Regions from separate parts of the Homo sapiens genome. Here all the other regions are linked to region 7. Evidence: promoter capture Hi-C in 16 types of primary human blood cells and fetal thymus (Javierre and others, 2016). All regions are on one chromosome and are shown on one strand. The core of a region is centred on a gene start or on the middle of the fragment in contact, and the rest is flanking DNA. Distances in the headings are between cores, read along the strand shown.

Region 1 (3,655 bases), core at 1,101-3,600, 690 kb before region 7:
AAAGAGAAAGGACAGCCTCATAGTGATTTAGAGTGAGCAGGATTCTCTTTTTTGACTTCAAAAGAATGGTTCTTACCTGCATCAGCCGGGTAGGATTTAAGTGTAATCTAACACCATTTATTTGCTTCCCAAATACTTATTATAAGAAGCTAAATACAGTTGTTCAAGTCAGGTAATTATTACAGTCACTATCAGAAATTAAGTAAAACAAACAAAAAATGCTTAATGGAATTACTGTAACCTTATTTGCAAACGTAAGCCAATTTAAGTGATCAGGGAATATCTTCACATAATATCACAGAAACCCAATTGAATTAATTTAAAATGCTGAGTTACTACCAGCATTGACTAGACTTGTAATCAGCACTGAAACTTTTCTAACAACTAATTAAAAAAGGGAGTATACAAAGTTATGTTTCTAATTCATTTAATACCACAGTCTCTAAAGGCATCTTCAATTAGCTACATTTTCTTTAGTTTTACTCAATTTATCAAAGTTAGATAAAGCTTTGAGAATAATGTTAGTGTTTATGACTCTGGTGAAATATTGTTTCTATCTTTTTATAAGGGATTTCTATCCTCTGATGAAGGAATGTTTTCAGTAGAAAGCGGTTGCTAAGGAAAATCAATGAAAATGTTATATACCAAACAAACTCGGTTCTTGTTTGCAAAAAGAGTAAAATTATATTAGAAGGAGAGAATTAGAAGTAACTTTTCTGAGTGGGAAAGATTTTTCTTGTAATTATGGTAAATTTAGGCAAAGCTTGTATATGCTTTCCAGAAACAATGAGTTCAGAAGGAGGCTTAGAAATGACATTAAGGAGATGCAGAGAGCAATGCAGCCCTTCATTATTGCCCAATCCTTTTGCCTTTGAAGGACAACAAGAGAAACTGAGATGACAGCTTTTCATCAACTGGAGAAAAGAATCAGAAAGACTTTTTTCCTGGTGTTAAGACTAGAAAATATTCCCAAAAGAATAATGAATGCTAAACAAACAACCATGCCACCTGATACTCCAGCCTTGGCTGGCCCATCACAAAGCCTGGAATTATTCTCAAATTTTTCACGTTACTCATTAGCTCAAGTACTCATTTCTTCGGTGCCTATTTGAAACCTTCACCACTCCCTCCAGTCCTCCCCGTCTTTTTCTCTTAGCACATGGTTCTACTTTATGGATAAAAGCAGCCATCCAGCCCCACCCACCCTCACATCTTCACATCCTCCCTGCAGTCTCAGGAGAAGTGCCTGCTCTTCCACCTGGACCCTACCGTTGACTTTCTTCCTTCTCTTGTAAGGACCTTGCTCCATCAGTTATCACCTCTGTGCCTCTCACATAGCCTTTGGAATATAACATGCTCAAATTTCACTCACTTTAAAACAAAACATGTAAATAACTAATAATAATCACAGGCACAAACACACACACTAACTACCTCTCTCTGTATGTCAGCTATTATGCTCCATCTAAAAGGGCACCACATCTTCTTTCTTGAATGATTAACTTATACTCAGATTTAAATCTCCAGAATTACTTCTGGCAACACCACTATGGCTACCACATTCTTGCTGTATCCCATGTACATCTCTAAGGCTGCACTGCGATTGCTATTTGTCTTTCTACAGCCCTGAATAGGCTGTGGAGTAACTGAGGGCCAACGTTGTTCACCTGCTGTCCCCAGCATGTGGCACAGTGAATAAGGCAGAACAGGTACTCAGTAACACTGACTGAAGGGAATAGTGCTCTGTAAACCTTCTCAACTAATGATACAGTCCCCACTTTCTTCCGTCTTTGCCCATCATAAGACAGTTCTGGACGTAAAATTTTGAGTTGAAGTCATATTAGCAGAAACTGTCTTCTATCATGTTTCTTTCTAAGCTTTGTTGCAAAATGTTGTAACTATTTGTTTACATATTTTTATCTATCACTAGACTCTGAGCTCCAAGAACTAAGGATCTAACATTACTTACCTTCCCACTTGAAATACTTAATAAAAGGTTTCAAAAATTATCTAAAGAAAAGGAAACAAGGAAGGAGAGGGACTATTTTCAACAGGAAGAGGGGGTCAAGGTGAGGGGGAAGGGTTTGTAAAACATAGTGAGTTAAAATGAGGGGGAAAAATTCCAAGATTCTCACTTGATTTAATATAAAATGGTAATTATTTGTCAAAAGGTCAACACTGGATGTTTATTAAATAAAATATATCTTCTTTTCTGTATACACTCGAACTCTTCAAAATTCACAATCCACATTGTATGACATATCTAATTTCCCCACTTATCTCAAGGGATAGTATTAATCTTCTTAATAAGATTATATAATTTATATTACTTAAGAAACATATAACAATAATACTAAAGTAATATAATGCATTTGCCTTGGCATTTCCAGGAAATGGAGCATTGTAACATGGTAAATCATTGATTTCATGACCACTCTAAGAGCTAACAGAACACGTGCTGTTATTTTCATTTTACAGTTGAGAAAATTGAACTTCAGAGGTTAAGAGGTGTGTACACTTGGAACTGTGAAAAAAAAAAAGTGAAGAAGGTGAAGGTAAAAGGGAGAAAGAAATATTAGATTTGCTCTTTGAAAATGCTTCATTGGGAGAAATGCAATTTTAATCACCAACGACAAACACTCAGCATTTACCTCTTGGAGCCCACCTCTGTCATTTTTGTGATAGAAATTTTACCAAAAGAAAAAGCAGGCATCACCTCACAGCCTTTCAGATAACATTTTTTTTTTTGAGAGGCCTGTGCCTTTCAAGTAATTTACTCCCCATTCTTAAATTCTAGGGTGGCAAGAAAAGTAATTGTTAACTAAAAGCTTAACATCTAATACAGCTAGCACACTATTTTTTTTGTTAAACATATGATACAGTAATAGATTTCCCTTTGTGTGTGTGTGTAATATGCATATACTTTGGAGAATTCTTGAATAATTTATATGTATCGATTCAGTAATAACACCCTGTTCCTCTGCCATGGTACACCTTCACGTTTCTCCCATCATATTCGGCCCAACTAGAATTTCTCTCACCATATTTATTTCCTTTGTTTATTCATGTTTCCTAGCTATTTTTTCGTATCATTTTATGAGGCCATTCTTCTGTAAACTTTAGAGCACCTAGAGCAGCATCTTACATTATAGAACCTTGAGCGAGAGGGATTTGCGAGATATCTATGTCTATTGTCGTTTAAATGTGAATACTTTTAAAAAGTACTTCCAGAACCAAAACACTGGATTGCAACAATGAAAATACTTGTTGCATCTAAGTAGTAGTAACATGGAGGGTTTTTTATTCTTTTTCTAAAAAATAACTTTCATGTTTTATATAGTTTGGCAATAAATAAGGAAACATAAGAGTCTTGTAACTGTGGCATCTTTACTTGGATGACAGATTCTCACTTAAACATATAATTCATTGGCTAGCAAATAAATTTTATCAGGATTTCAACTTCCAAAAAAAAATTGCCCCTAAGGAAAAATGTGGCCTATTTATCCACAATCAGTGTTATAACTTTTTTTCCATTTTTTAAAATGGAAAGCAGAGCTATCTGATCATTCCTACCTTATTTCTCATTGCCAAACATTGAGAGGCAAGCGATATACAAGAGACTTACCCACTCTTCCTCATCATAGTCTGAATGATG
Region 2 (3,917 bases), core at 1,102-3,601, 720 kb before region 7:
ATGCCAACGGCCATGTCCTCTAGCATTCCAATTTCATCGCCTAAACAATAGAAAAGGCACTTAGCTACAAACAAACATTTGAGGAAAATGTCACTAGCTACTATGCCTCCCTGCTGGAATTTGTTCTAGCATTTTATTGAATGAGTTTCTGAATGCAGTGAACCTACTCTAGACACTTTTCCTCAGAGGCTGAAGGTGTTTCTTAGTGAAATGAGAACCATTTCAATGGACTTCAGAAGTCAATCTACCCTTTGAGGGAAGGAAGAACGTGGACATTTGCTGTGAGGCTGGAGAGAGTGTTTTAACCCCTTTGTGATTTGTGCACCTTTCTTTCTACTGGCAGGACTGATATCTGTTGTCTAGAAATAACAGAGGTAGCTGAATTTATCATCACTGACCCAGGTTCATGCTAGTTTTGCATCTCCATACATTAACAAATGAAGCCTGACAGGGAGATCATTAAGATTCCAGATCAGCACTCTCTAACAGAAATATGTGAGCCACATATATAATTTTAAATTTCCTGGTAGTCATTTTTTAAAAGAGTGAAATTAAAAAGGTAGAATTAATTTTAATAATATATTTTACTTAATCCAGTATATCCAAAATACCATTTCAATTGTAAATTAATATGAAATTATTAATTATCAATATAAAATATCTTTTAAAACTAGTTTTTGAAATCTGGTATGCATATCTAGTACTTATTGATTTGGACTAGACACATTTCAATTACCCAAAAGTCACACAAGGCTACTATATTGAACAGTGCAGTTCTAGACATTACAGGGTTGAGACTTTAAAATCCAGTCATTGCAACTATGTTGGCACAGAGCCTTTTATATTAAAAAAGCCAGATGGCTGCTCAGGAGTCCACTCTGAAATAATCTATAATTCCATTTTCAAAGCATAATAGGAGGCAAAAGTAAGTTACAAGGTGAATGCAAAAAACTGAAAGTTATATTATTTTTGTAATACTTGGCACAATAAAGGTTTACTTATTTTTATGTTTTCTTGAAAAATTTCTGGATTAAATGTCCTTCTGAATAGAAATGTGATTTTAACTTGTACTAAAGCAATACTCACTGTATGTACTTAGCAGTCCTTCATATTGTACTATCAACCCCACTGTGTGAAGCTGCTGTAGGAAGCCTGGGTCATACAGACTTGTCTGTAATTTGATGATAAAACCACAAACCAATCCAGCAAGCTGAAAAAAAAATATTGATGAGATTTACTGCAGTTAGCAAACGTATTTGTTTTATTTTGAAATATTTTAAGACTTCTGAGGCATCACAGATTCGATTATCAGGTATGTATAACAAAACTACAACTATTTGGTAGGCATAGTAAAACAAGTTGACAGTCTTTGATCTAGAATTGCTGTGTATAAAAGTCTTGGGGAAGGTAGAAGTGCAAAGGGAAAAAGAACATGGACAGGAGTAAGGTTGATAGGTCTTCAAATCTTATATCTACCATTTCTAACAGTAAATTCATAAACACTTAAGCACTTCCAAATCTTACTATTTTTTGTACATGTAAAATAGAGATGATAATAATCATTTCACAGGGTCATTAAAAGAACACAATGACGAAACATGTATGTATAAGGCAGAGCATATTTTCCGACACCTGGTTAGCTTCATGTGCCACTGGACCATTCATGAAATAGTGGGGGAAAGCGACAGTTTGGTTAAAATATTCCCTTTTCCTAGAATGTTTAGAAAGAGAAGTCTTCTTTTTCTTTCTCTCCATATGTCCTGTCTATAAAACTCAGCCATGAGGATGGAGGCAGGTGGGGAGAAGGAAGGCACCAGCACACCCACCGTGATGGAGGCAGGCCTTGGCATTATGAATCATGTTGGGTGTAGGCAAGGAAGGTGGCCCTGTCAAACCTCCTATTCGAGCCTTACTGCCCTGAAAACTTATTTTAAAAACAAAATAAGAGATAATTGTGAAATCCTGTCCCAGGATTCATGGGGGAGCTGTACAAATAAGCGACTGCAAACAGATCCCCTTTGCCAAGTCCTAGCTTGTCACCTGGAGTGCAAGTCAACAGTCCCTTCCCTTACACTTATGTAGATCCCAGAGCATAATACAAAGATGATGACCACTTCCTTCACGGACTTCATGCCCTGTGAAGCAGAATTTACATGTTAGAGACTTGGCCATCTCTTTTCAGAAATAAATACTTAAGGTCTCATAAACTCTTTGCTTAGGATATTCAGCTGATATTTATCGTGAATAAGAAACATGGGATACCAAAACTTTAAGGATCTTTTTAAAAATAAAGCTGTCCCAATAAGAATTCTATTCATCATCAAGGATAGGATGTTAACAATCCGGCATTGTTTTGTACTAACAATAACAACAGGCACCTACTGCTTGGCTGAAGACGATGTCTCTTCTTAGCGTCAGCATCAGACACTGGGGCAAGCTGTACGCAAGTTCCTGAAGGAGCACAAATGTCAGGGACTGCTTGGCTCGGTTCACCACTTCTCCCATGCAGTCCTTCAGGGTAAGGATGAGGGGATACAACTGTTCATACCAGTCCTCTGGGGGAAGGGGGTGTAAGAACAGTGCAATAGATGAAGGAAGGTCTTGGAATATAATGCAGAACCAACTTCCAACTTATTTTTAATTTTTCAGTAAGTTAGACATATTCTTAAGGATTCACAAAGATTAGAGCTGAAGATCTCTAATTTAAATCTCTCGCCTGAACTCCACAATGTCCATAAGCAGCCACCCATCAGACCTCTCCAAGTGGATGCATTTAACATATTTGCAGCAGATCTCTCTTCTCTGCTCATCTCTAATCTGTGCACTACCTGTATCTTAGTGAGTGGTGCCATCAAATCTTTCTCATACTGGAAACAGAAGTTTTACTGGACTTCCTCTTTTGCAGTTTTCACATTAACTTGGTCATTAAATTAGTTCTACTACTCTTAACAGTCCATCAATATGCATCTTCTCCTTGTCCATGCCCATCGTTGTTTATTGCTCTCCCTTGGATTACTTCCTGGACTACTCCCTAACCCATCTCCCTTCCTCCAGTCACACTCTACTGAATTCCCTTCTCAACAGTGTTGCCAGAAACATTTATAATCAGTTTGTATCTGATTGTACCACTCACTCCTCACTTCTTAAAATATTTTGAAAAAAAAACACTAAAGCATTCATAAATAAATAAAGTTCAAACTCATGAAAGATTCTCCATTATCTAAACTTTGCCTATTTGTCTAATCTCATCTTTCAGAAGTTTATTTGCTGTCTTGAGTCTCAGGTGAATTGAACCTCATGTATTTCCTTAAACTTATCTTGTTCTCTCATCTCAATGTCTTTGAAAATCCTATCTCCTCTCCTGGAACACTCTTTTTCTACTTATCTTCCTGACAAATGCTTTATCTCTTCTGCAAACTCAATTCAGGATTTCTCTTCTCCAGGAAGTCTTCCTTCATTTCCCCCTTACTACACTTCCCTATTCCATGAAGATTGGGTTGAGCTGACTTCCTTTTGTGCCTGTATCTTCCTGTCCCAGTACTACTCACACACTACTCACCATTTTCCTCTGCAAGAAAGATAACTCACTGAGGGCAAGGAATTCATTTTTTAATCACCGAATCACTAGAACCTAGCATAGTGCCTAGCATATAGTAAATATTCAATAAGTTTTAATTGAATGAGAAAAGTTACAATAAATATAAAAAGTTTTAAAGATATAGACAAGTTTAAGTAAGTCAAGTTTTGGGTAGTATTTGGGATTCAAATAGCTGTTCTTCAAATGAGGATGCAAAATTGAGACCATTTGTGCTATTTGTATGTCTAGATTTCTAACAGGCATCAATTATATAATTATGACTTTGGTATGATATAGAAACAATTTATGTTCTGTTTCAGTTAATTTGGAGATCAAAGCC
Region 3 (3,855 bases), core at 1,261-3,760, 660 kb before region 7:
AAAGACCCATAAGGAATTGACTAGACCAACTACATTTTATTTCTCTCTGGTGGATAGCAAAATCCCTTCCTAAGCTAACATTGCACACTTATTAAGAGGATGTCATGTGTTGAACATCTTTTGACTGCTTGAGGGTAAATGAGTATGGAAGAAGAACTTGAGACTAAGGACAGAAGTCTAATTTTCTAGCTCTGGTTCTGTCATTAGCTGCATTGGTGACTCAATCGTTGGTCCTTGGTATTTTCATCAATAAAATAAGTAGGAGAATTCATGGTCTCTGGGATCCTCTCTAAGTTCTATGATTTAAAAGATTCTTGGCCGGGCACGGTGGCTCACGCCTATAATCCCAGCACTTTGGGAGGCTGAGGTGGGCGGATCACGAGGTCAGGAGATTGAGACCAACCTGGCTAACACGGTGAAACCTCATCTCTACAAAAAATACAAAAAATTAGCCGGGCGTGGTGGCAGGTGCCTGTAGTCCCAGCTACTTGAGAGGCTGAGGCAGGAGAACTGCTTGAACCCGGGAGGCGGAGCTTGCAGTGAGCAGAGATCACGCCGCTGCACTCCAGCCTGGTGACAGAGCGAGACTCTGTCTCAAAAAAAAAAAAACAAACAAAAAAAAGATTCTTAATGTGAAAAACAGCACGGACTCAACATGATTATTTTCTTATTTCTCAAAATGTCTCTTTAATGGAGTATAAACAACTGACCTTATTAATTAAGCAATGGAAATGAATGGCTTATTTCCTGTATCCCCTTTCTCAGCTGTCTTGGCATTTACCCGGTTATAGAAACCAGAAACCTAAGAGTCCTTCAATCCTGCCCAGGCTCCCTCAAGCCCTCAGCCAACTGGATGTAAATTCTGTTAGATATTTCCTTAAAATCTTCAACTCCCCAGGTACCTGTTTTCCCTCATGCAACTATTATAATAGTCTAATTGTTTGCCATTCTTCTGTTCTCTCTACACTGTCACTCCAAATACTATGATCACGGCAATCTTCAGCTGAAAACCTACCAATTGCAGTATCCATAGCCTATAGGGTGAACTGCCAGGAGCTGACATAGCAAATAATTGTTTAAGATTTGGTCCTTGCTCCCTGCCCAGCCTAACGTCCTTTCATACTCTCCTACACTCTAGAAGCTGCTCTGTGTTGCTGGAGTTTATAAGCCAAGGGGCAGTGAATGGCACTATCATTCCCCAGATGTATGTGGGAGTCTTCCTTGATACCTCTGGGTTCTTACCTCCACTCCTAACACACATACAACCCCCAAGTTGCCCCTAAATACCTCTGTAATTTATCTTCTCTCCATCTGTGCTGACACTATAAGCCAATCCATCTTCCTTCTCTGATGGGGTTACCACAATAATCAATTATTAATGTAAGCCTCATCACAAGGAAGAGGACATTGAAATAATTCAGGCAAAGTCCCCTCTAATAAAGATCTTGCAATAACAGTATTTATATCATGTAACACAGCCAAGTGTTTGATTTTTCCATGACATAAATTCCATATGTACATTTTTTTAAAGTTTGAGATGTTCTACACTTAGCTTTCAAAGCTCTGAAAAATATAGTATATTTTATTTGTAGATGACTGGCAATTTATTTATAGATGACTTTTCTGCTGTATGCTGCCTTTGCAATGATGACTATTAAATATCTAGAACAACAGACAGCTTTAAAAATATTCTGGAAATCACTTGGAGTTTAACAAGTTCAAAAGTTCCTCCTTGGATTCAGTGAATACTTCTGAGATAACATACTGTGTCATGGTTTAAAATGTTGTTTCAGTTTGCAGCAAAGGAGAAACGTAACTTCTAATTTACAGAAAATAAATCCTCAAATCATATTATCTTTATATATTTAGTTTTAAAAATAAACAGACAAAATGTATTTTTTCTGTAATTTTCATATTAGACTTAACATTTTTACTTTTAAACCCTAATCTTCTTGTTGATTTTTTTTTCTGATATATCTCTAGGTGTACACATGTAGCCACAGCTATAGTGAAGACAAGAAAATCCAAGAGTGGTTATGTATTTTGTCATTTTCAGACTGCCTTCTTCACCAAATTTGATATCATTAAAAATTTGGGGACAGTTTAGCAAACACATTTTGTCATTTACAATTAAAGTCATTTCCTTTAAAATAAATATTCAATTTTTTAAAATTCTGAACTGTCACACTATATATAGTGCCTCTTGCCTAAATATCAGATCATTCTTTGCCTCACAAGCTTTTGGACAGGTTGTTGGAAGAATGTCACAACTTGGAGGTGTTAAAGTCACTATTGCATTACTGATATTGAATCAGGTTTTTAAGTTAGCCATCTTTATATAAATTGTCTCCCTTCTTCTTTCGGAAGACGTAAAAGTATATTTTCCCTAGCTAGTGAGGTGCAAGGAAACACTAATGTTATACCTGCCAAATAGTTGTTTTCAAAGCCTATAAGACATTTTCCACAAGTGTCTTTTTGTTTCTGTTTCTTTTTCCTAATTCCACAAAAAGTCTCTGTGTCTGCTACCTAATTCTATCACACTGATCTCTTCTGCAGGCATAGTCATTGGTTCTTCCCTTTATTCTTATGGCAGGCAACACTTTGATGTTACTCATTCATTCCCCCATATATATATCCATTCATCAAACTCTTTTCAAGTTAGGTCCTGGGGATACTGTGGTAAACTGGACAGACATGTTTCATATTCTCAGAGCACATACAGTCTAGAGGGATTTTGTACACTGGAGACTTAAAGCAGACTTGGCTTAGACAAGGAGTCAGAAGAAGCTTCCAGGCAGAAATGATTTTAAGTTAAGATCTGTGGTGGTGAGAAAGTTCTCTTCTGGTTCACTATGGAGGGTAGAGGGGAGGGAAAGATGATGGTGTCATGGTGCAAGATGAAGCTGGAGAAGAAACCATGGCCAGAACACATGTATATATTATTGCACCTTAGATTTTCTCCTGCAAGCAAGAGGCAGCAAAGAAATTTTTAAAATTATGAAACACAAGAATATTTGCCTTTAAGAAATATAATTCCAACCAAGATAAGGATAACTGATTGGATGAGAGCCAGTCTGGAAGGAAGGACGGTAATTAAGAGGTTTGGTAGTAGAATATTTAAAAGACAGTGGTTCTATGTGCTAGGATTATCTTAACCCATGTTTCATTATTAAAATGCATAACTTCCAGATATATAAGAAAGTAAATTAATTTTAAGTGAAAGCAAGGGAGAAAAAGTTGTCAAGGATTTTCAGGTGCTACATTGAACAGTGGGGTGGATGGTCATACCTTTTTATTAAGGAAAATAACCCCCAAAAGAAGCAAGTTTGAGAGCCAAAGGGATGCAAAATGATTCAATATCTCAATCTTGAGGTGTATGGAAGATATGAGTAAAGTGGAGCTACCTGCTAGATATATATTTATAAATATATATGTGTATGTGTGTGTGTATATATATATATATATATATCTCATCAGCCATACTTCTACTTCACACGTGAATAATATCCAAACTCAGTACTCAAGACTGAATGAGAAATTAGGCATATTATGCATATTAATACAACTTTTTGGTGGTATTACTTCTAAAATTTAACTACCTCTTAACTAAGAAATCTTAGTTTCTTAGTTAAGAAAGAAGTCCTCTTGGCCGGGCGCGGTGGCTCATGCCGGTAATCCTAGCACTTCGAGAGGCCGAGGCGGGTGGATCACGAGGTCAGGAGACAGAGACCATCCTGGCTAACACGGTGAAACCCTGTCTCTACTAAAAATACAAAAAATTAGCCGCGCGTGGTGGCAGGTGCCTGTAGTCCCAGCTACTCGGGAGGCTGAGGCAGGAGAATGGTGTGAACCTGA
Region 4 (4,103 bases), core at 134-2,633, 640 kb before region 7:
CGTGTCCTATAGTAATTATGTATACATACTTCCATATTTATTTCCTTATCTGCCTCTATTCTTTATTTTTCATTCTTTTTATTATCATTTTTTATAATTTTATTGATCACTTATTATCACTTAAACAACACAATAAAAGTAAGTTAAAAAATAAAGCAGGTTGGGGATAAGAAATTCTAAGACAGACATATTGATAAGCAAGAAAACAATCAGATTTGAAAAACAATAAGCACACTTATGTGTTCTCAAATGTGAAAGTACTAGAGAGCAAAAATAGGGTAAAAGTCCCCAAATATTCTTCAGTTTTGAACTTCATAGAATAAATTTCAAATTGACAAACTCTCACAGCTAGCAGAAGTGTAGCATCTTATCTAAATTCTAGAAAGGCATTTTCAACCTATCATATTCCATTAATATCAAGAGGTCTTCTCCACTAAGACACTAGATATGGTTTATGTCTAGATACTTATAAAGCAAAGTCTCCCTGTCTTTGTATTTCCTCAATTGCATTCTGATTCTAACCACTCCTCAAAAAGCTTGAATCTTTGTGTGCATATTTTATAGAAGTTCAAAGAGTTTGGCTTTAAATAGCATTTTTACACTTCAGGTCTTCAAAAAACTTGTTTTAAGTTTTAAACTTTTAACTTTGATAGCCAAAGAGTGGCTTTGAAGGAAACAATTGGAAAGTAGCTGCTGAATGTTATTCTCAGAACTGACATGAATTTAAGCCAAAGGAAACAGCTTTGTTCTCCAGCTATGGGTATGTTAGGTTTGTCACATGGTCTGAAATAACATTTTGTACAGTTGTGTAATCTTTAACTTTAATTGAGATATTTTCCCTCACATTTAAAACTGGTCACTCAAATTGTTAAAATACCAATACTTTCTATGAAAGTTGCAAATTTATTATCTTAGGTAATCTTCTTAATATTTTGCAGTTGTCATTTCATAATTATCAGCTACCAATATCTCAATGTGAAACAGCATGGTTTATCTCCTTTGGCCCTTTCAGCCTTGAATTTCACTTGTAACTACTACAAAATAGATTGATCTATGTATACCATGTGATTTATTTCCTGGTCTCTTCAGCTGATGAAGAATGGTATACACTTAAAGTACCATGTTCATTCTTAGCTGGGGCAGTTGTATTCCTTTAAATTTAGAATTAACTGCAATTGATTGTTTTCCTCCAAAGAGAAAAAAATGTACAAGAAAAAAAAATAACCTATAAGAAAACAAAATTAAAATTCTAAGGTAACAATACCTATAAGAAAACAAAATTAAAATTCTAAAGTAACAATTTGGTCGGTAAAATCCGTATTATCATTTAAAAAATATTTTTATTGTACCCTGCTCTTTACGATTTTTTGAACAGCTTTTACCATGGCTATATCCTATTCTTTATGTATCTTTGTGATTTGAATAGCCCTTAGCTGTGTAATAAAAGTCTTCAGATTTTTGTTATCAAGAGACAATTAGAAAAATCTAAGTGGGAATATCTTATAGAAAATTTAAGCAAACAAAATACAGTTTTTTTTCTTTTAAATGTGTCTTCCTTTTTGACATTTTATAGTGTCTCAAAAATTGTCTTTGGCTTTGTGAAAATTGCATAGTATCCAAAGTAATAGATAAAAAGTAATAGATAAGTAGAATTTAAGTTGTTGAGTCTTGTCAAACTAAAGACACCAGATTGATTTGAGATTTAATAATAGGGCTGCCTTGTAGCCTTTTAAAAGCCATTTAATAATAGAAATGAGATAATAACTCTATTTTTCCCAGAAGATCTTTCTAAAATTCCTACAACTATAAAATAGTGCTAATGTCAAAAATGAAGACACGCTGACCTCATATCAAGGAACAATTTAAATATAATCCCTGATTTCAAAATGGCATGTAATATGTCTTTGGCAGGAATTGCAAAAGCCTTTAGGGATTTTTAAGGGAAATCTGTGTCAAAATAGTCCAAGCAATTTGACATCGTTATTAAATACATCTAACATAATTATGCTTCACTGATGAGGTGATACTCTCACATTCTTGAGATACAGAAATCAGAGAGCTCTAGAAGCTCCTCTCTTCTGCTCCTTCCTTCTATGTAGAGATTATAAAATGAAAGGCCAAAGAGGTTAGCTGACTCCTCCATAGTTAACACAGTAAATTTTGGCTACTGTTGGACCTGATTTCACCTACAGCTTTATGATATAAACTCATTTTTTAAAACATATATTAGTTAAGCTTCTTTTCATACCAATTTGCGGAATCCCACTTGAGATATCTGAAAAACAACAAACAAAAACAATGAGAGTGGGCGGGGCCGTGCTTGACAGGTGTGTTTCACTCATGCAAACTAAGGGCAAGCCCATTCATTCCCTGTGGGCTCAAATCAGGAACTGAAAAGCCATGAGAGACTATCTCTGCCTTTCCTCTCTTTTTGTGGTCTCCTTTATTACTGTATGTCTGATTTTTCTTCCCCACGGAAAAGATGAGCACTTTTTGGTTCTCTAGAACACAATTAGAGTTAAATTCAGAAGGAGAGATTGTCTCTGAATCCCCAAAGAGAATCCACGAGTGAAACTCCATTGATTCAGCTTGGGTGAAGTGATCACCCCAGACCCTCTTTTTATTTTTTTGCACATGCTGTGTCAGGCACTGTGATCACTCAAGCAGCTATATCTAAAGGGACCAGGCTCACAAAGTAAAACCATAGCTATATAGCTAATATTTACAAAACACTCATGCTTAGAGTTAGCTATACATTAATAATGCAGTTATATAAAGAAGGCTTTTAGTACTATAGATTACAACAGATCCATAAACTATGTCTGCTGTGAAACAAAATAGTTGCTTTAGTTTGAATTCATTAAATTTTATAGCAAAATATAATACTTTTCTATTGTATATCTATAGCATATAAAATAAAACAGAATATTACATTACAAGAATTTATATTCCATAATATTCACAACTGATGTGCTGTGAAAATAAAATTTATTAAAGTATATTAGTATAAAAACTTTTGTTTTGAATTTTGGGGTTTATGTTTCATTCTTGTCACTGCTGGCTAAGATCTATTGTGGTGAGTATTCTACTTGTTGCATTTAGTTTAAGTAATGAATAAGGATGAAAAACTTAACTTAATGAGTTTCAGGGCACCCTAAGTTAACTGCAGGTTATTCCATTTGTCAGTATGAGACATGACAACATTAGTTCTGCTCAGTTACTTATTTCAAGAGCTACATATTAGCCTTGTATCTGGTGACTCTGCCAGCTATTGTTTGCAAAGCTTCCTCTCCAAATATAGCAGGCTTATTAATCAAATGTGAATAGACACAATTTACTAATGGTAAAGATGAAAAAAAAAATTAGACCACATCCAAATAACTTGCCAGTAAAATGCCAAGGCTTAGCCCATCTTACTTGCATTATTACCTTGCAATAATAATTCAGCTAAACATTCAAATCAGTAGCCACAAAACTTAAATAAATTTAACTGCAATCCAAAATCTGTTAAATACATGTTATAAAAGAAAGTAGAAAAATTTGATTCACTACCACCTATGACAACTTTTAACGTTTTCATTTTGCAAATAATAAAATGACACTCAGAGAGGTCAAATAACATGGTTAAAGTCAAAGTAGTAAGTGGTAAGGACCCAAAATTTCAATGGAGTTTTCAACCTGTATTATAACATGTAGTTGGTGACCTAGTCTACATAACAGCTACTTAATCTGAACTCCAGTTTCAAATAATAACTTTTAATATTACATATTTTTAAAACATAAGCTTGATAATTTAGCATGCTGTTATATATGCAATACAATTCAGTACTTTTCCCATTAATGTGGCTCTTAGGATATCTAGCCTTTTCCCATATTTTCTTCTTAGCTCTTCAAAGACCAGAACCAGTCTTTCTGCTAACTGCTTTGTCAAAAATCTTCTAGTTTCTGGGTTGTACCCTAATCTGTAACATTAAATTTTTTTTTTCTGTATTGCTTGATATTTGTCATTACAAGTAAGAATTTCCTTTCTAAATCCTGTTGTGGGTTTACTTGTACCTCGCAAGAAAGATACCTCAGAATGTGACTTTATTTGGAAATAAGTT
Region 5 (3,716 bases), core at 901-3,400, 700 kb before region 7:
TCAGAGGAACTTTATCTTTGACAGGATTTACAGCTGGATAGATTAGGAAAAATAATTCAATGGCATAGGATATTTGGCCTTTTACAGGGCATTTCATGACATACTTGTGAAAGATGGAGAAATATAGGCCATGCAATGATATGAATGGGTGAACATAGAGCTGGTTGAACACACATCCCCAAAGGGTAGTGATTAACCAGCGTATTTGAATGCATACTGTTCCTTTTAGTGATGTGCCTTAAGAATCTCTATGTAGCTCTGTTTTCTAATCATTTTTATCTGTTACTTCTAGGAATGGACAGAAAATGCATATAAAATGTGAATAAAATCATCCTGAGTAGGTCAGTAGATATGAAGGATGAAAGAAACAGGTATTTATTAGAGTGTACTCAAAGGCATTTTATACTAGTCAGTCATGGGTTTAGACATCCATCTCTTCAGTAAAATTGGGATAGATTGTTTTAATCTTCTCATGCCCCCAATATTTCATAATGTCTAGTATATAGTGGTGCTTAAATGTTACTTGAATCTTTAGAAGCCTGAAGGATAGGTCAAATTTAGCAAGGTTTATGGATATCAGTAGAATTAGTTGTAAAATGTGAGTGTCAAAACAGTGAATGCCAGCTTAGATATCATTATATTAGAATAGTACCTAAAAGTAGGGAGGTGGTCCTCCTGGGTTACTCTGCAGCTATTAACTGTATTTGTATCGCTGCGCTTAATTCTGCAGACTGCTGAGACAAACTAGAAGATGTTCAGAGAAATGCAAACTCTTGGATATGCTTGAAGCTATTCCTTTGAAAAATGATTGAAAAGGTGACAATTCAAAAGGGACATGAGGGTTGCTTTCAGATACACCTTAGGCTTAATGTAAAGAAAGAAAAGTAAATTTGTTTTTTATTGCAAAGGATTATATCTGGACCAGTGGGTACAATGAAAGAAAACATATTAGGATCAAGGTCTGGAGTATGTTGCTCTAGAAGATAAAAAGAGTTTTCTATAACTGAAGATGTGCCTCATAGGCTAGTTGAAAACCGGCAGAGATATTGTAGATAAGCTTCTTAACATATTTTAGGAGGTTTAATTACATAATCTTTAAGATGACGTCAAAATCTAAGGTTCTAATATTCACTGATTTTATCTTTGAGTCAGCAGTTTATGAAACTGAAGGCATGTAGTGCTATACAGACAGCAGATGCTTAGAAAGGTATTTGAGTGTACTACAAATAAAAGGACAATCTTCATTCATTAGGAAACCACATAAATATATATAAACTGTAGAACTTTGGAATAGTTATTCTATTATTTCTCTTCAGAACAGCACAGAAAGTTTTATGTCTCTCAGCACTATCTGCATTTACCCTAAAAAGAAATTTATAAAGCAAGCCAAAGATATACTGTAAAACCTTGGTTCTCAAACAAACAGAAAACCTTCAAAACTACAGATTTAAAATATTACTAAAAGGAAAATTTGCAACTTGAAAAGAGAAATAGCTGTAGGTTAAAGAACAACATAAGAAAGTGGATAAAAGTAGCACAACCCAGATGACCATCTGTTTAGCCATGTTAAGTATACAGCAGCAAAACAAACACAAATTATAGCTACAATGTAAAAATAAAGGAGTGTGATGAAAAAGAAAAACTGTCATAGGATTGATTTACTCCAAATTTAGAAATGTATCCCAACATAAATCACAATAATCAAAACCCTATGAAATAAAACAAAATTCCAGAATTTGATTTAAAATAGATACAGAATCTAATAAACAAAAAACCAGAAGTAATACAACATGAAGAATAACATCACTAACAAATGATGCTGCAACAAATGCTTATCAGTATTTATCATATCATACATTGTAATAAATACTATATGTCTCAAATTGCTTGCCTAATCAATTCACTAATTAATTGTAAAAAAGAAAGGAGCAAAATGGCTTGGGCTGGGATAAATTTGGGACTATTGAAGAAATACATTTTATTATCAAAAATAATATTTTGGAATATAGTAACATGTTATACAATGTCAAACTTCACAGAAACAAGAAATTACAATATGATATTTTCACCCAAAGTGGCAGGAAATAAGTGAAAATATTTAAGGCTGAAAAGATTGTAATCAGAAGGTTGCTTTTAGATCCTGTTAGTTAGAGTGTCTTTTGTTATAGAGAACCATGAAAATGTTTCTATCCATCCAGATGTTGATTTCTAAATGCTGTTCTCCAATAAAATGAAACCAGGTTTCTTTAGAAATTGGCTGAACCTGGAGCTGGGGTAGGGAAAATATAAGATGAGCCTAGAGCTTCTTATGGTGCCAAAGAGGAAGTCAGTGAGTAAAACAAGTAAGAAAATGAGTAAGGGAAATAAGAAAGTAAGGGAGTAAACAACATATGGGAGGATGTCATCAGAAGGACACAGAAATCAATCTGAATAAGAGAGAACAACTTGAGTCCAAAATAAATAATATTAGTATTGGATTCTTAACCAAATAATAAAATAAGTATTCAAACAAGGAAGAAAAGATTTTGAATGTTGTCACCACAAGGAATGATAAACGTTTAAAGTGATGAATATGGTAATTACTCTGATGTTGTCATTATGTGAATAAAGCACCACATGGAGTTTTACCCCAAAATATGGCTCCCTGATATAATGAATATTTTGAATTACAGGCCCTTAGAGATCAACAGATGGTAGAACAGACTTTTCCCTATCCATATAAAGACAGGGCAGACCTATGAAGGAGAAGAGTTGTTTCTTCTCTGCCTCGGCCCCATGTCTCTCAATCTTCTACCTCTTCAAAAGCACAGGCTGAAGTTTCCTTAACTGCCTAAACTCCAGATCTTCAAAAACAAACAAGCAAAACACCAAAAAACAATTACCTGTGATCCACTCCTTGGTTTTTTACTAACTGAACCCATATCCCAGGAGGAAGACAAAAGTCGTCAACAAACCTGGACATATTTTTGTCACAAACCAACAGGCCCAACAGACAACTGTATGTTCTTCAAGCCCATTAAATTATCCTAAAAACTATTTACTATCTTCCTAAAATCATCCACACTACCTCTCCTCTCCCTTTCCCCTAAAATGTAGGGTATATAAGCATCTGTACTGAGATATTAGGTAATCACAGTGTGATTCTCCCTTTACACATGATAGCAATAAATTTATATTCCTTTTCTCTTATGAATCTGCCTTTTTATGAGTTAATTTTTCAATAACTTTTCAGAGGGCAAAAGGAGAAGCTTTCCGTTCACCCACACATACACATGCATTGAGACATCACGGTGAACCCCATAAAAATGTACAATTATTATGTGTCAAATATAATTAAAATTTAAGTTAAAAATAAAATAAGTATTCATGAGTCCACATTGATATAAAAAATGGATAAATAAATACATAGGAGAGAGGGGGCAACTCTTCCTTACAAAATAATTCCAGTTCTGACAATCTAACTTATGGGGAAATAAAATTTAGTTAAAGACTTACAGAATCAAAGATGCTTATATGTTAATTACAGCACTATGATAGTACTTAAAAATCTAAAATAATGGCTTCTATTTTGATGAATTCGTTTACAGTCATTATAATACGCGTTCTGGAGAATGGTTATGAGGAAATATTCAGACAAAAGTAACATATTTCACACATTTAAATAGTGACTTCTCTTAAAAAAATTCTAACACAAGAAAGAATTGGTGATGAGTGAA
Region 6 (4,025 bases), core at 1,375-3,874, 630 kb before region 7:
AAATACAAAAAATTAGCCAGGTGTGGTGGTGGGCGCCTGTAGTCCCAGCTACTCGGGAGGCTGAGGCGGGAGAATGGTGTGAACCCAGGAGGCGGAGCTTGCAGTGAGCTGAGATTGTGCCACTACACTCCAGCCTGGGCAACAGACCAAGACTCTGTCTCAAAAAAAAAAAAAAAAAAAAAAAAAAAAAAAAAAAAAAAAAGAAGGAATCTGACACTAATGTTGTAATTAAATAGTTGCATACCATTACAAAGCCTTTGGCATGGGTAGCAAAGGAGATTAGCTACATAAATGCTTTTTTAAATTCATATAAAATAGGTTTTAGAATACTCCTATCTGTAAACATTCTCATTTTACTCACAGTCACAACAGCTTCTACTTTCAAATGTTCTCTCTTTCAATCACTACTTTGCAACAACAAAATAATTCTTCCTGGAAAATCCACCCCCTTGCTAAACACATACAATCTCATGAATTCATTGCTTTACTCTCACTAGAGTTCTATCTCCAAAACAAATCTTCTAACCTGTCTCTAGCTTCTCCCAGTTCTCCAAGAGTCCAACAAGTTGATGCAAGAAGTTAGGGAGAAAAGACTCAATAATAAAATATTAATAAGCTTAGGCCTCTTACACATTAAACACTTTTTGGGACTTACTTCCATCTGCTCCATTTCCCTTTCCTGACTACAAAAATAAAAGGCAAATTATACAAAACAAATCTCCAAAGGAGACATATAATTGCTAATGTCTATTCAGGAAACATCTAGTGCTCTATAGATCCTGGCATTCCAACAGCAAAGTATCACATTCTTGATACTTGATGAAATATTCATACAGATCTCTGGAAATAACCTTATGAAGTACTTTTTGTCTATATGGATCGTTTTGTCTTACTGTGTTTAAATATTTCAAAAACACATGCTTTTTATTTTCAGTAAAATTGCAAGTTCCTGGAAGTCATTATATACTCCGAACCTTCCACAATGTAGAACACCCTACTAATTATATGACATGTTTAAAACACAAGCTATTTAAAAACATGAAGAGAAAATGAGATTAAAAACCAAAACAAAACAACCCTGTGAAGAATAAAGAGAAATAATTAAGTACAGAGTGAATCATAGAAGAACTGGGAGAAAAGTAACCAAATGTGCTTTAATTTTGTTACATATAATGTGTAAAATATTGGCCGGAATATTAAACAGATAAGTATTTTTTAAACTTTATTCCTTATACCCCTGGGGTTGTTGTAGGTATAGGGACCCAGAAAGTGTTGGACAAATTAGGGCGAGTAAATGAATAGGCCTCAGGTTCTTTCCTTTACTGTACCCACCCAGTAGCTCCAATTATATCCCTTTAATTTACATTGGAATTCTGTGTACAATTCTGTTTGGAAAATAAACGTTACTGGGGCAAAAAAACAAAAACAAAAAAAGAAGAAACAGAAGGCTTAAGATCACCAAAATAGAAAATTGTAGCTCTATTTAAAGCTTCTATTTAAAACATAGCATTAAAGCCCACTGATGATATATTCAAGGAGGGATTTCCAACATGGGGCAAATGTGCTTTGAGTCTGTGAGTGGCAGAGACTAGCTTTATTCATCTTTTTGTCCAACCGCAGTCTCCTACCCATGGGAAGTATCTGAGATGGGCTTGTTGACTGAATAAATGAAGTTTGCTTGCAGATTGTTGTTCTTATATTTTCCTAAAATTTAGGATAAAGTCAAAATATAGACTAACCCTAGAGTATAGTGCTAAGCTCTGCCAAGTTTCAATGGAGAAATGAGACATGGTTCGGTCTTCTACCCTTGCATGATGTAGGTCTGTAATCCTAGATTAAGCAAGTCTTCCTTAGGGATAAAGATTTGAAAAATTTATCTTCATATGGCATTTCCTATTGTGATGGTTAATTGTACATATCAACTTGGTTGGACCACAGGGTGCCCAGATATTTGGTCAACGGTATACTGAGTGTTTCCATGAGGAGATTTTTGAGGGAGATTAACATTTGAATCGGTAGCCTCAATAAGGCCCACTGCCCTCTCTAATTTGGGTCGGCCTAATTCAATCAGGTGGAGGCCTGAATAGAATAAGAGACTGACACTTCCCCCAAGTAAGAGAGGAATCTCCTGCCTGACTGCCTTCAAACTGAGACTTTGCTTTTTTCCTGCCTTTGGACTCAGACTGACACACTCGACTGGAACTACACCATTGGCTCTAATGGGTCTCCAGCTAGCCTACTCACCCTGCAAATCTTGGGACTTGTCAGCTTGCATAATGATGTAAACCAATTCTTTCTAATAAATTGTGTGTGTGTGTGTGTGTGTGTGTTCTATTCTGTTTCTCTTTGGAACCCTGACCCATACACTAACTATGCTGGGATTCCATCACACTGATTTCTCTCTGCTTAGTGCATAAACAGCTGAGAGACAGGCCAGTTGGTGATGGTGGGAGGGAGATGGAAGAAAATCATCTAGAATATAGTTTAGGCTCTTCCATGGGCTTTTATCCCTCCTACCACATTTTACAAATACTCTCCTGACTTGTTCAAAAGAAAAACAACTATAGTGATGTTCGACTTGTCTAAGGGACATGCACAAGAAATCTCTTTAGTTCTGAGGCCAACATTCTGTGTGCAAGCACCTATGATATTGGAAGTGAGAACCAAAATTGGTAAACTTTAAAAATCTGGGTATATAAATTCAAAAATGTCAGAAATTATGGAAGGTAATTATTGTAATAATGAGTATCTGAAAATAATAGATAATTCATTTACGGAAAAGTCGTAAGACAAAATAGCTTGATAAAAATGTATACAGCAAAGGATATAGCCCAGTATGAGAGATATAAAAGTGTTATTTGAGACTGTTATAATTTAAGTAAATAGAAATATTTTTCCACAATGAGCTCTATAATACCATTTTAAAAAATAAAAATAGCTGTAGAACTTAAATAAAGCCTTTTGGTAGTTATTACACAGTAAAACTACACATGGTATGCATGGGTAGAAAGTTTAACAGCCAAGATGCTTTCATTCATTAAACAAAATTAGACCTTAAATCAAACTTAAAAGAAGTCATAAAAAATTTATTCACTAGGACAAAAATTAAATACTAAATAGTCAGTGAAGAATAGACTACATAAATGACTGGTAGGTGGCTTCAATTTCATAAAGTGGTTGGGTGACACCATAAAACTGAGCAAAGTTCAACTGGATGTCAGGTTTCACAGTATATTCAGCCTACAATTCAAAATATCTGTGCTTTAACCCACACATGGATAAAAATTGCATCCATAAATCACGGGCCTATTTTTTAAAATACATTCTTATAAATGACAATGTGGTTAATGTTGCAAGCCATGAGCCACTATTTCAGGGAAAAACAACTGAATATTCCAAGTGGTCATTCACTCCGATTTTCACTTGAAGTTAAAATAACTGCTTATTGTACTATATACACAATAAAGCCTCAAGTTATATACAAAGACTGACAGTTGGAACACAGTTATTACAGGATTTAGTTGCAATCACAAAATCTGTTTGTATCTGATAAACAGCCAGATTCTATAATTTAATTTTAGGTAACTGCATTAGAAAAAAATGAAGAACAATAAGTATGTCTTTTTCCAGACTAAGAATCTATTTGCTCTTGTTGATAAAGTTAAATTGGTATTTATTTACTTCTAAATAACATCAGTTTACCCTTCACAGTTTGCTTTAAAGTTATTAAACATGGCCAGCATTTATTTTTTAGTATTTTAAAGCTTAGTGCTCCACTTATTGTCTAAAGCAGTGGTAGTTGCATTGTGCAAAGGTTTCTCACAAATCCACATATGTTCATTACATGCCTTTTCATTCTAAGTAGCCGTGGAAGTTATGAAACGTACTTAAAAGCTGTTTAAACAAGACAGAGTGCTAGCATTCTCATCACATTTTAATAATTTGTGCCCACAATTTCAGAAATAGAGAACATTTCTGGATACCACCCCTTTAAATTCCTCTAACCCTGGACTTGGACGGAGGAT
Region 7 (3,843 bases), core at 601-3,100:
ACACTGAAAAAGCAATCCATTTTGCAATAGCATTTTACATTACTACAAATTCACGAGGTTCAACCTTCAATGCCCATGTACCTTTCACAAAACTATTGATCATTTCCTATCAATGCTTTACAGGATTATATCACAAAGGAACACATAATGCATGTATGTGCATCAATGCGTAAAGGAGAGGATGCATTTCTGTGCATAGTATGTGAACTGACAATGCCCACTTGCCCAGTCCTTGCTTTACTCAACTTCTTACACATCATCAGCCAGCTGCCCTGTTGATGATTCCTTGCACCTTATGCGCTGCTTTATCATTGAGTCAGATTACTACCATTTCTGGTCCAGAACTCATTAAGAAAAGTCCTTTTTCAAGCAAGGTCTTTGAAATGTAGTTGTACACCTATAAAAGAACTATCTGGAGCTCATCTTGAGAGAGAGAAGATGAATTTATCCTCTGTCTTTAGGCTTTTACTTACAGAGCCACACCTTTATAAACAAGTTCTGTCTGTCATACTGACAGGAAGGAGATATGCAAAATGTAACATCTGGAGTCATAAAATATAATGACCTCAAATAACATTCCAGAAAGAGAAAGGAAAACTAGTTCTGGTTAGGGAGAAGATAAAAGAGGAAAAGGAGTAAATTTACATCCTTAAAACAAGAGTAATAGAAAACCCTACCGGGTTTTTCCAGTAAGTTTTGTGCAGCAGCAGCAACAACCTAATCAATATGTGCTTCCTCACCCTCTTGTCCCCAAAGAGAAACTGCTGGGCCCCTCTCCACCGACTCCCCAGGAGCAGAAACTACTGCCCCCAAGGAAGGGAGAATTCAGAAGCGTGGGGAGGGGGAAAAACAGGTATATGTGGTTCTAGCATCCTCATCTTCATATCAGCTACCAGCCTGAAACTACATTCAGGAACCAGGCTCCCAGACATTCCCCGGCCCTGGGCCCTGCCTGAGCGCCAGAGAGCTTGAGGAGCCTGCAGCATAGTTCTCAGACCCGAAACAATGACCTCCCCCGTCCAAACCCAGGCACTCTTGCGCCAAGGCCCTAACCTCTCAGCGAGACCTCTTTGGGGAAGGACAAGAGATGCTGCCTGATGGCCGAGAGAAGACATGCCAGGCTTCTCTGCCAGAATGAGTTGTTGAGGGTGGGATGAAGGTGGTCAAGGAGATGGGCTCTTTATTTTTAAAACAAAAAACAAGGCAACCGGGACCACCAACATCAGTCACCCTCACTCCCCACCACTGCCTCTATTCCTTAAGGACTTCTTCCCAGGCCGGCGGCGGCGGCGGCGGCGGCGGCGGCAGCTTGCGATCATCAGGATTGGAAGTGAGAGCGAGTGCCCGGGCCAACCTCAGCGTCTCTCAGGGACAGCGCAGGTGGGCGCAGCCTTGGAAGGTCAGCGAGGCCAGAGCTCAGAGTTCCACGGGGGCCCGGAGAGTGTGCGTGTGTGAGTGAGAATGCGAAAACGCGCGCGCGCCGGGCAGAGGGGCGCTCGGCGAGAGGGTAGGCGCGGTGACAGGGGTACCCCAGCAGCCGAGGAGAGACAGCCCACCCCACCCTTTAAGCTAAAGAGCTGGAGGGGTGATGGAGGCTGCAAGACGGAGAAACTTGATGCAAAACAGACAGGCTCCCCCCTCCAAGACGTGCCGCCACGCTCTCAGACACGCTCCCTCGCCTCCCGGATTACCCACCATCAACCACCCCACCCTGCAAAATTCCCCCACCGAGCCCTAGGATCCCAGGCGGGTAATTACCTCTCCCGGAGGCGGAGTGGGGGGCGGCAGCAGCAGCAGACACTTTTAGCCTGACTTTCCTGCGTTCGCTTGCGAGCGTGTGAGCGTGTGCGCGCCCAGGAGGAGCTGTAACCTGCTATTTATAGACCGAAGCCTCAGTACCCGGGGCTGAGAACCCGGAGGAAACTAGCAGGCGGCGGCGACGGCGCAGGGCGCCGGCCGCGGCTTCGCGAGGCTCCAGCAGCTCCCCCAGCCTCTGGCTTCGGCCGCGCTCCCTGCTCGCTCCTCGCCTACCAGCCCCGCGCGCGCCCCAGAGAAGTTGTCACCAGCGCGGCTGGCTCTCCGGCTGCTCACACGCCCCCTGGCACAATTGCTACTTTCTTCCACCCCAACCCCCACCCTCCCCGCTCCTCTTCCTCCTCCTCTGCTCTCTCCAAGCGGTCTCCTCCCAATGTCACCAGCGACCGAGTAGAGGCGGCCGTGGCAGCGACAGTCGCGCAACTGGCGCTGCTCGCTTCCCGCTACTGATAGAGCGGAGATGGTGGCCCGGCTGCCCACCCCGAAATTACCACGCTGGCTCCGTGTGCTCACACCCCGTACCCCGACCCCTTTCTGCGGCCCCTCTGCCCGCTGGGTCGCCCACCCAGACTGGGCTGTGGGATCACCGCTACCGCGACGAGGGGGGACCCGAGGCCGCCACGCTGCTGCGGGGGCAGGAGAAACCACAGAGAAAGAACCCGCGGGAGGAAGAAAGCGCCCCAGACCCCGGCCTATGGCAGCGCAGTCCCTAGACCGAGGGTTTTTGGAAGGGGCTTGGGATCCCTGCTGTCACTGCCTGCGTCTAGGCATCCATTCACGCCTGCTGGACCCCAGTCTGCAGCCGCGCTGGGACCCCTGTCTCTTGCCCCTCCTCCCCCTTGCCCCGGGCAGAGGTCGGGCTGAGGAGACCAGCTTAGAGCAGCCCTCGGCCACCCACCGCCAGTTCCCACGTCGCGGCGGGTGACTGAGGCCGAGATGCTCCCAACTAGCGTATGACATGCCTTTGATATCCCGGGTGCGTGGGGACAAATCCGCCCTGAATGTGTTGGGGTATCAGGAAAACGGGGTATGTAAGCAAGCAGTCTGGACGGAGACTAAAACTCCCCCACTTCCTAGCCCCTAACAAGCCCACAGGGGAAAGCACGCACCCTGGTTATTCCGGGCTGTGTAGGGTGTGGGGCAAATGACTCTCCCCATCTGCGCTTTACAGGTGCCACCTGGCGGCTCTCTCGGAAAGGTTTTGATGGAGCCGTTCAAAGGTAAAGGTGCCCAGAGCCAGCCCATCAAGACACCCCAGCCCTTCTCCCTGAGGGCGCTTTAAAATCACATTTTAAGTAAAGCAGTGTACGAATGCTTGTACACAAGTGTTACATTTGCCATGCAAAAAGACTGGAATCTCAAAGTCAGGACAGTGAAATCAATTTGGGTTAAGTCGGGGCTTAACAGTTTCACAAACCAGGAAGCTGTATGTACCCCCAGCTGTCACCCCTGCTGTCACTGCCCGCATCTAGGCATCCTTTCACTCCTCAAACCTTTGACCACCACATTATAAGCCTTGCCAATGAGGACAGGGACTTTGGGTTTGTTTTGTTTTGTTTTGTTTTGTTTTGTTTGGTGGGGGGAGTTGTTTGTTCGTTTCATTTATTTTTTTCATCACTCTGCTCCCAGAGCTTGGGACAATACCTAATATTCTGTAGTTTCAATAAATGTTTATAGAATCAAATAATAAACACTATAGGCCAGAAACTGCTTGGCGCCCCCGAAGCCCTTCCTTTTGCTTCTCTTCAAGCTTTTTCTCCTATGCTCAGCCTCTACCCCAAGTGAGCTGAATGCAGAGAGATAGGAGAGTGAGGAACAAATAATCCCTGTCAAGATGTGGATCAGCTTTGAGAAGCCTTCACACAGTTAGATTTCTCCTCCATGGGGCAGCACTGAACACACCCATCTCCAAGCAATGGGTAAGCCGTGTTCATAGAGATCTGCTGGAAAGATGATACAACTTTCTCACTGGGCAGTTTCTGATTTTTCTCACAATAGAGAGAGATTGAAATAATATCAGGACATTAG

What was found. Contacts are between HindIII fragments. The CHiCAGO score rates a contact against its expected background, and 5 or more counts as called.
Region 1: a contact is called between a fragment that was not itself captured here and the fragment with the promoter of INPP4B in region 7, in 7 of 17 cell types (naive CD4 T cells, activated CD4 T cells, non-activated CD4 T cells and 4 more). The highest score is 15.4, in naive CD4 T cells.
Region 2: a contact is called between a fragment that was not itself captured here and the fragment with the promoter of INPP4B in region 7, in 15 of 17 cell types (total CD4 T cells, fetal thymus, non-activated CD4 T cells and 12 more). The highest score is 65.6, in total CD4 T cells.
Region 3: a contact is called between a fragment that was not itself captured here and the fragment with the promoter of INPP4B in region 7, in 5 of 17 cell types (non-activated CD4 T cells, naive CD8 T cells, activated CD4 T cells and 2 more). The highest score is 11.6, in non-activated CD4 T cells.
Region 4: a fragment that was not itself captured here is called in contact with the fragment with the promoter of INPP4B in region 7 in 6 of 17 cell types (non-activated CD4 T cells, naive CD4 T cells, activated CD4 T cells and 3 more); the score reaches 14.5 in non-activated CD4 T cells.
Region 5: a fragment that was not itself captured here is called in contact with the fragment with the promoter of INPP4B in region 7 in 12 of 17 cell types (non-activated CD4 T cells, naive CD4 T cells, total CD4 T cells and 9 more); the score reaches 28.0 in non-activated CD4 T cells.
Region 6: a contact is called between a fragment that was not itself captured here and the fragment with the promoter of INPP4B in region 7, in 5 of 17 cell types (non-activated CD4 T cells, activated CD4 T cells, naive CD4 T cells and 2 more). The highest score is 9.2, in non-activated CD4 T cells.

The regions. Positions count from the first base shown.
Region 1 is chr4:142,156,733-142,160,387 of GRCh38, forward strand. It overlaps INPP4B (inositol polyphosphate-4-phosphatase type II B), which reads right to left. Exons shown (of 26, transcript NM_001101669.3): 17 at 3,626-3,655. Among named protein-coding and RNA genes, the nearest start is that of IL15, 520 kb to the left of the region's middle. The HindIII fragment of the contact is 951 bases long and covers 1,876-2,826 here.
Region 2 is chr4:142,122,206-142,126,122 of GRCh38, forward strand. It overlaps INPP4B (inositol polyphosphate-4-phosphatase type II B), which reads right to left. Exons shown (of 26, transcript NM_001101669.3): 19 at 2,383-2,555; 20 at 1,087-1,210; 21 at 1-40. Among named protein-coding and RNA genes, the nearest start is that of IL15, 490 kb to the left of the region's middle. The HindIII fragment of the contact is 7,020 bases long and covers 1-3,917 here.
Region 3 is chr4:142,181,951-142,185,805 of GRCh38, forward strand. The region is part of intron 15 of INPP4B (inositol polyphosphate-4-phosphatase type II B); the gene reads right to left. Among named protein-coding and RNA genes, the nearest start is that of IL15, 550 kb to the left of the region's middle. The HindIII fragment of the contact is 549 bases long and covers 2,237-2,785 here.
Region 4 is chr4:142,200,492-142,204,594 of GRCh38, forward strand. All of the region lies in intron 14 of INPP4B (inositol polyphosphate-4-phosphatase type II B), which reads right to left. Among named protein-coding and RNA genes, the nearest start is that of IL15, 570 kb to the left of the region's middle. The HindIII fragment of the contact is 1,699 bases long and covers 535-2,233 here.
Region 5 is chr4:142,140,247-142,143,962 of GRCh38, forward strand. The region is part of intron 18 of INPP4B (inositol polyphosphate-4-phosphatase type II B); the gene reads right to left. Among named protein-coding and RNA genes, the nearest start is that of IL15, 510 kb to the left of the region's middle. The HindIII fragment of the contact is 2,191 bases long and covers 1,056-3,246 here.
Region 6 is chr4:142,215,732-142,219,756 of GRCh38, forward strand. All of the region lies in intron 12 of INPP4B (inositol polyphosphate-4-phosphatase type II B), which reads right to left. Among named protein-coding and RNA genes, the nearest start is that of IL15, 580 kb to the left of the region's middle. The HindIII fragment of the contact is 2,275 bases long and covers 1,488-3,762 here.
Region 7 is chr4:142,844,451-142,848,293 of GRCh38, forward strand. INPP4B (inositol polyphosphate-4-phosphatase type II B) reads right to left here and starts at 1,851. Exons shown (of 26, transcript NM_001101669.3): 1 at 1,759-1,851. The region is part of intron 3 of USP38-DT (USP38 divergent transcript); the gene reads right to left. RefSeq lists an enhancer at 2,608-3,194. The HindIII fragment of the contact is 4,051 bases long and covers 1-3,563 here.